2 separate regions of the Homo sapiens genome follow, and region 1 is linked to region 2. Evidence: promoter capture Hi-C in 16 types of primary human blood cells and fetal thymus (Javierre and others, 2016). All regions are on one chromosome and are shown on one strand. Each heading gives the region's core, a stretch centred on a gene start or on the middle of the fragment in contact. The rest is flanking DNA. Distances are from core to core; before and after follow the strand shown. Region 1 holds the start of ZNF644 (zinc finger protein 644). Region 2 holds the start of ALG14 (ALG14 UDP-N-acetylglucosaminyltransferase subunit).

Region 1 (3,333 bases), core at 834-3,333, 4.1 Mb before region 2:
TCCCACCACTTCTATTCTCTTTGAAACTTTCTTTTCTCCTCCTGCTACCCATTAACAGTCTCAATTCAACCAAAACACTCTTATAACTTGAATGACAAACTAAAACTGGAAAATGTTTAAGGTTGGCAGGTGACAGACCACTTTATAACTACAAATAACCTGAAAGTGACTCTAATTTTCACAAAATGAAAGTGTAAGTAAATCCACTCACATAATGTTGAAAATTATAAAACAGCTTATCAACTAACAAAAATCAGTAATTTAAAAGCACCTTATATGACCCATAAAAACTTTTAAAACCTTAAAACAATTTAACTTTTTGCTAAATCTGACATTCAAAGAAGTTAAAAATCACTATAGGGTTCCACCATAAATGACTGTCACTACTTGTTCAATTTCCTAACAGACCTTAGAGGTACCACTCAGTAGAAGTAGTAGTCTTAAAAAGTTGTTTTAAAGAAAGGGAACATTCTGAGTGGCACATTCGTTTATCCAACCAAAACACTATTACAAAATGAAAGACACCATTATTTTCAGCATTGATCTCATTTCTTTTCCTACATAATAACTGGCAATAACAGCAGTTATTTCAAACTTTCAAAGAAATTTATCAAGTCCCTGGTTGTTGTTTTTTAATTTTTCAATTTCTGGGTCAAGACTGCATTTGGAAAACCTTAAAATTCAAAAGCAACATTGCTCTGAAACTATCTGATATTTCTGTATTTTGTACCTGATTTTGTTTCACTGAAAGTCACTTTAAAAACCAAGTTAACCACAGAATATGAAAGTTTTTTTGTTTTTTTGTTTTGAGATGTAGTCTTGCTGTGTCACCAGACTGGAGTGCAGTGCCACGATCTCAGCTCTCTGCAACCTCTGCCTTCCGGGTTCAAGTGATTCTCCTGCCTCAGCCTCCCGAGTAGGTGGGACTATAGGCACCACCACGCCCAGGAAATTTTTACATTTTTAGTAGAGACGGGGTTTCACCATGTTAGCCAGGATGGTCTCGATCTCTTGACCTCGTGATCTGCTCGCCTCAGCCTCCCAAAGTGCTGGGATTACAGGCGTGAGCCACCGTGCCAGGCCAATATGAAAGTTTTTAACTTATTGTCACAGAAGTTCTCATGAACCTAACAATATTTAATTAACAAGTATTCTCAATAACATTCCCTTGTTTTTTTAACCATTAGTTGTAGATATTCACCTTCTCATCCCAGCAATATGACAAATACAAACAGCAATGGGTAGAGGCTGAAAGGCAATTTTCCATTATGCCACTAACTTAATCATCTCTGGTCCTCAATATATTGTAAAAGAGGAGGGTAAGAGCAGTTGTTCTTTGATATTGCTTCCACTGTAAAACTTTATGATCCAGGAATACATTTGCTAATGTTAATGCATCTCCTATTCATTAATACAAGACTGTTCTGTATTAGAAGCTAAAAAAAGAGAAAATATATATCTGAAAAGAACAAGGAAATGAAAGTTAACTAATGTTGAAAAATTCAAATTTCAGTTTGAACACAGAGATCTACACAGTGATCTAATGTGTTTAAATATCCCTCCAACCAAGGAATTCTGTTAATTGCCAACACAAAACATTAGGTGTTTCAAAATTTTGTACTTCATGAGTTAATACCAACACAAAGTATGATATAATTGCAGTATAACTTTAATTTGTTAGAAATTGTAAGACTTTTAAAAGCAATACATACCACTGCATTAATACTAATCAAGCTTTATGCTTCACCAATTAAAATGTCTAAGCTAGATTATAGCCTTATTATAAAAACGAGGTTTTTCTTAGCAAGCCTACCAAAATGCAATATTACTGCCATCAAGTTCCCTAGATACTTACACATGCAACTGAAGGCAAACAGCCAGGTTTCCTTTCTTTGAGAAACTTTAGTTGTCTATTTTTTGAAATGTTTTCCTTCTCATGGGACCAAAAAATGTTTACAACTAAAGCAAACTACTGCAGGGAGGGAATACACAATTAAAACAAATCTACCATCCAGATGCAACAAGCGTGGAATTAGGACTGGACAGGATAGTCGGCGGTGTTGTGATACTTCTGTTGAAATTATTAACAAGACAAGACCATCATTCGCCCCCAATTATGTTTATCCCCTCGTTGAGTTTGATGATCACACAAAATCTGAAGTCTAAATATAAACGTTTTTATATTCAAAGTCAATATTCAAGAAAACTTTTCCACTAATGTTGCTAAACCATAGATGGATCCCAACAAGAGTTGTCTGTAGAAGTCTCGTAACAAGTAACCTTTAGCTCCACCACCTAAGTTTCCAATCACTGAGAAGAGTCTGGGACAACTCATCTTCAGGTTCACGGGAGAAGTGGAGCACACCTGCTTTCCTCTGGCAGAGTAACTTCCCAGGGACACAAAGGCCAGAGAATCAGACCTGGAGAGGCAAAAAGCTTTAGCTGGACACCCACCAAGCCCCTGGCAACCCAAACACTTCGAGCGATTTACCTCTTGCTGTTACTTCCCAGGCACCTAGCCGCATAAGATCTTGCAGGACGGGGGGAGGGGAGGGCTATGCGGTCCTGTCCCAAGTAAGGGGAGGGGTGTAGACAGTTAATGCCAGAGCCAGCGTTTCTGGCCACAACCGAGCAGCCTCAACGAGAGGGGTTGGTGACTGCTCTCGGCCCGCCCCGTTACTCAGTGCATTGCAATGGCGACCGCCAGGCTCCCCAAGCCGCCTGATCTCGGCCCCTTCCCCCTACTGCTCACTGGCTGCTCGGCTTCATGTGACTAAACAAAACCCCCAAGTCTAGTGCCCAGCTCAGCCCCTTTGTGTCCGCTACCGGATCCTCCGACGCCGCAGCGGAAAGCCCCCCCCCCATCCCCCCGCCGAGTCCCGCCCCGCGGCGGCGGCCGCCGCTCACCTCAGGCTCCGTGGCCCCCAGCGACCGCCGCGGCCGCCGCCTCCCCGAACCCGGGGCCCGGGCTCCTTGTGTAGCACCAACTCCGCCTCCTCGGCCGCCGCCGCCATCTTAGCCTGTGCGGCAAAATGCGTCCTTTTGGATGGCTGGGACCCAGCCTAGGGCGTAGCTCCCCGGGCCCGAGAGCCGGAGGCCGGGTCCCCCAAGTTCTTCCGCCACCCTCAGTCCCGCCGCTGCCACAGCCCAGAGGCCCGAAACCCACTCGGGTCCCAGCGAATCTGACCAAATAACCCCTGAAACTCACAGTTTGGTGCCGTGTGCGTCAAACCGGGGCGACGTTGGGAGCACGCGGCGTCCCCGCGTCACACGCCGCTCTGTACGCTACTCGGCTCCAGCGGCCCCCCTCCGCTCCCCGCTTTTCGCCTCCAG
Region 2 (3,703 bases), core at 307-2,806:
AATTAGCTGAGTGTGGTGGTGCGCCTGTAATCCCAGCTACTCGGGAGGCTGAGGCAGGAGAATGGCTTGAATTTGGGAGGTGGAGTTGCAGTGAGCTGAGACTGCGCCACTGCCCTCCAGCCTGGGCAACAGCGTGAGACTCTGTATAAAAAAGAAAAAAAGCAAGATTTTAAATACTCTTTACAATCTGGACTCAGTTTACCTCCCTACATTGAACTCTACACGATAGTGTTCTCTCAACTCTGGTCATTCCAAGTGTTATCACCTTCTTTTCACATCCTCCCAGCCCTCGAAACCCTGGCTGTCCCTCATCTGACTAATTCTGGGTCATCTTTCAAGTTTCAGTTTAGCATCATTTCTTCCAGGAAGCTGTCTGTTTTTTAAGACCTGATAAAGTAGTGCCCTTCCTGAAGACTGCCATAGCAATTTGTACTTCTTACACAATTATTACAAGATTATAGCATTTATCTCATTGTGGCAAATACTCATTTTGATTTATTTTCTGTTAGTTTTTTTGTATTCTCTATTTCATTTACTGCTGTATCTTTGCATCTCTCACAGGACTTAGCACGGAGTCAGCACTCCGTGGCAAGTAATGTTAGTCAGTTTTGTTATTTCCAGAGGTTAGTTTAGTGTTTGGTCTTTCTAACAGCTCAAAACAGATTAAGTGAATAAAGTAATGCGTTATACTTGAACATAAACTTAGTACATTTACTCATACTATACATGTTCTATCTGGATGCAATCTCCTGCCATACCCAAATGTTTACATTGTGTCTGTGTGTGTCTGTCTGTCCCTGTCAAATATGTGTATTTAAAATTGTAAGCACCTACAGAGTTGGTGGATTTAGATTGTATTACCTGACAGGTCAGTGTGTTGCTCACACTCTGCCACCGCGTGTGTATTGTTCTACAGCCCGTAGATCATTGTTTTTATCCTCTTGGACTTTGTATATTTATAAATGTGACAATTCATTTTGCCTCATTTGTCATGTAGCATTCGTGTTTCCTAAACTAAATACGCAATACCTAGATTAATAATGCACAACAGCCATACGGGGAAACTGCATGTTTGCATCAAAAGGCTTCTACGTTCTCTGTTCACTAATTGTTTGAAAAATATACGCTACAGAGAGTCTTAATTATAGACAAGTGTAAATTACTTGTCATAAAAAAAACCTCTGGGCCGCGTCAGCAAACCAGCCCCTACCCTGGCTGGACTGCCCGGTTCCGGCAAGGCAGAGAAACTACAAATCTCTGCATGCAACACTCCAAGAAGTGCTAAGGGTACCAGGGAAGAGCGTCGCGGTGCACTCTGGGGTTTGTAGTGACCAACCCAAGTCCGACAGTCGCCTCCTCGATACTTACCGGACCCAGCCACTACCAAGATACTGAGAGACTCCCGGGGCGTAACGTCCATGGAACGAAGCACTACCCATATTCGCAGGATTAGGAAAACCGCCACAGCTCCTGCGGCCGCAGCTAGAACGAGAACGCACACCATGCAGAGAAACGGCGCATGCGTCCAACTTCCGGGGACCAGCCGCTGTCAAAGTTCACAACTACGGGTGCCGAAGCGACTCAAACGCGGAGGACGCACGTCTTGGTGGGCTGGTCTTTCCTGAGCTGGGAGGAGTGGAGGCGACGGAGAAGCTGAGGTCCCAGTCACAATCCATTTTACCTCATTTATCATGTAGTATTCGTGTTTCCTAAACTAAATACGCAATACCTAGATTAATAATGCACAACAGCCATACAGGGAAACTGCATATTAGCGTTAAAAGGTTTCTACGTTCTGTACGTTCACGTTTGTCAGCGGAACCCCTGCTTCTGCGCGGATTGTGCGCAGCTGCAGCCAAGCGTAAGCTGAAAATTGTAAAGTTAAGCGCTGGGGAAGCTTGATTTACGCCCACGACGAGGTCAGGCAGTCTCTGCGCCCTAAAGGTCCCGAAACTCCCCAGTTAGGAGGTGTTCTGGCTCTGTCAACTTCGTGAATGCCACCTGAAGCTAAGGGAATACATCCTTTCTTTCTTTCTTTTTTTTTTTTTAATGCCAAGAGAAATGTTTCTGTTGCACACAGACATTACTGAAAGTGTTCGCCAGTAAGGACCCTAGGCTTAAACATCGAATTTAGGGCCCTCATCCAAACCCCCTGTCTCCCAACATGTATGTTTTTAACTTTTCTCGAGGTTTTCACAGCTCTCAGTGTGACCAGAGTAGTTGAGGGTGACCACCTAAAGGTAAGCCACACTCCTAAGAGGATTGCAAAGCTCAGTGGCTCTAGGTAGCAGGATAGACAAGGCACAGTCCTACAATTAATATTCAGTTAATTTTATCACAAAGCATTTCCAGTGTGTTTCTCATGTCCTCAGCCAAAATGATGATCTGCCAACACCCCCTTCAATCTCAATTTTGCTTATGTCTAATTAATTAATTGTTAATAAATTAATTATGTCTAATTAATCCACATTACGACAACATAAAATACTAAGATCAGGAGCCCCTTCACCCCAAATATAATTTGCCTTCGGTCCACCATAGACCTACCTGTAGGTTATATTGAACAGGTATACAGATGAGTAAAAAGGTTCAGAAAGGTGCAACTGCTTGCCCAAGTGGAATAGCGTCAGATCTAGAATCAGAAACCAGAAATCTGAGTCCTGCTGGACAGGAGTACTGCATCCTGTATTCCTTTGCTAAATTCAAACTTGCCTGATCACCACACTTACCTGGAGCCTAGAATGTGTTATTAAAGGTGCAGACTCCCAGGGTCCATTAGGAAACACTGAATCAGAATTTCCGGGGATCGGGCACCTGGGATTAGCTTATGTAACCAGCGTGTCCATTCCTATCAGCAAGCAAGTTTGGGAGACTTTGTGAGTAGAGTCCGTGGACCTTACAACACTTTCCAAATTGTCTTCCATCAAATCTTCTTTCTTTTCTTTTCTTTTCTTTTTTTTTTTTTTTGAGACAGAGTCTCACTCTGTCGCTTGGCTGGAGTGCAGTGGCACAATCTTGGCTCACTGCAACCCCCACCTCCCAGGTTCAAGCGATTCTCCTGCCTCAGCCTCCCAAGTAGCTGGGACTACAGGCATGCACCACCATGCCTGGCTATTTTTTTTTTTTTTTTTTTTAGTAGAGACAGAGTTTCACCATGTTGGCCAGGCTGGTCTCGAACTCCTAACCTCAGGTGATCTGCCCGCCTCTACCTCCCAAAGTGCTGGGATTACAGGCATGAGCCACTGCGCCCGGCTCCATCAAATCTTCTTAACTATACATTCTCGCAGTAAGACCTTAAAGTGGATATTAGTTCCCTTTTTACAGACAAAGAAGTAGATTCCATAAAAGTTAAATAATTTGCCTAAGTCTACTTAGCTAGTAAGGGTGGAGAAAGTTCATAGTTGTGGACTTAGAAGTCAGTGTCTCTCAAATTTTAATGGAATCAGAATTCTCTGGGCTTACAAATGCGTAGTTGGAAGTCCAGAGGTAGGGTCTTTGGTGTAGTAAGAAAAACAGCTCAAGGATAATACAAGGAGTATCATTTACTTGTATATGCCCACTCTGCCATTCCTAATAATGTCTTCAACCTGAAACAGTCTTACCTGATACTTAAGACACTAGTGGTCCCAGAATGGGATGTGTGGATGGTTACATCCAACAGGGCAATCTCCATAGCCAAAAAAGAGGTTATCTTGTCGGGTCT

What was found. The method cuts DNA at HindIII sites, captures the fragments that hold promoters and counts their contacts. A CHiCAGO score of 5 or more calls a contact.
Region 1: a contact is called between a fragment that was not itself captured here and the fragment with the promoter of ALG14 in region 2, in 1 of 17 cell types (naive CD8 T cells). The highest score is 5.9, in naive CD8 T cells.

What each region holds. Positions count from the first base shown.
Region 1 is chr1:91,018,782-91,022,114 of GRCh38, forward strand. It overlaps ZNF644 (zinc finger protein 644), which reads right to left and starts at 3,254. Exons shown (of 6, transcript NM_201269.3): 1 at 3,209-3,254. RefSeq lists enhancers at 2,511-3,060, 3,061-3,333 and silencers at 2,844-2,913, 3,244-3,333. The HindIII fragment of the contact is 702 bases long and covers 1,733-2,434 here.
Region 2 is chr1:95,071,395-95,075,097 of GRCh38, forward strand. It overlaps ALG14 (ALG14 UDP-N-acetylglucosaminyltransferase subunit), which reads right to left and starts at 1,557. Exons shown (of 4, transcript NM_144988.4): 1 at 1,369-1,557. The coding sequence starts at 1,504. RefSeq lists enhancers at 999-1,078, 1,319-1,678. The HindIII fragment of the contact is 2,572 bases long and covers 1-1,895 here.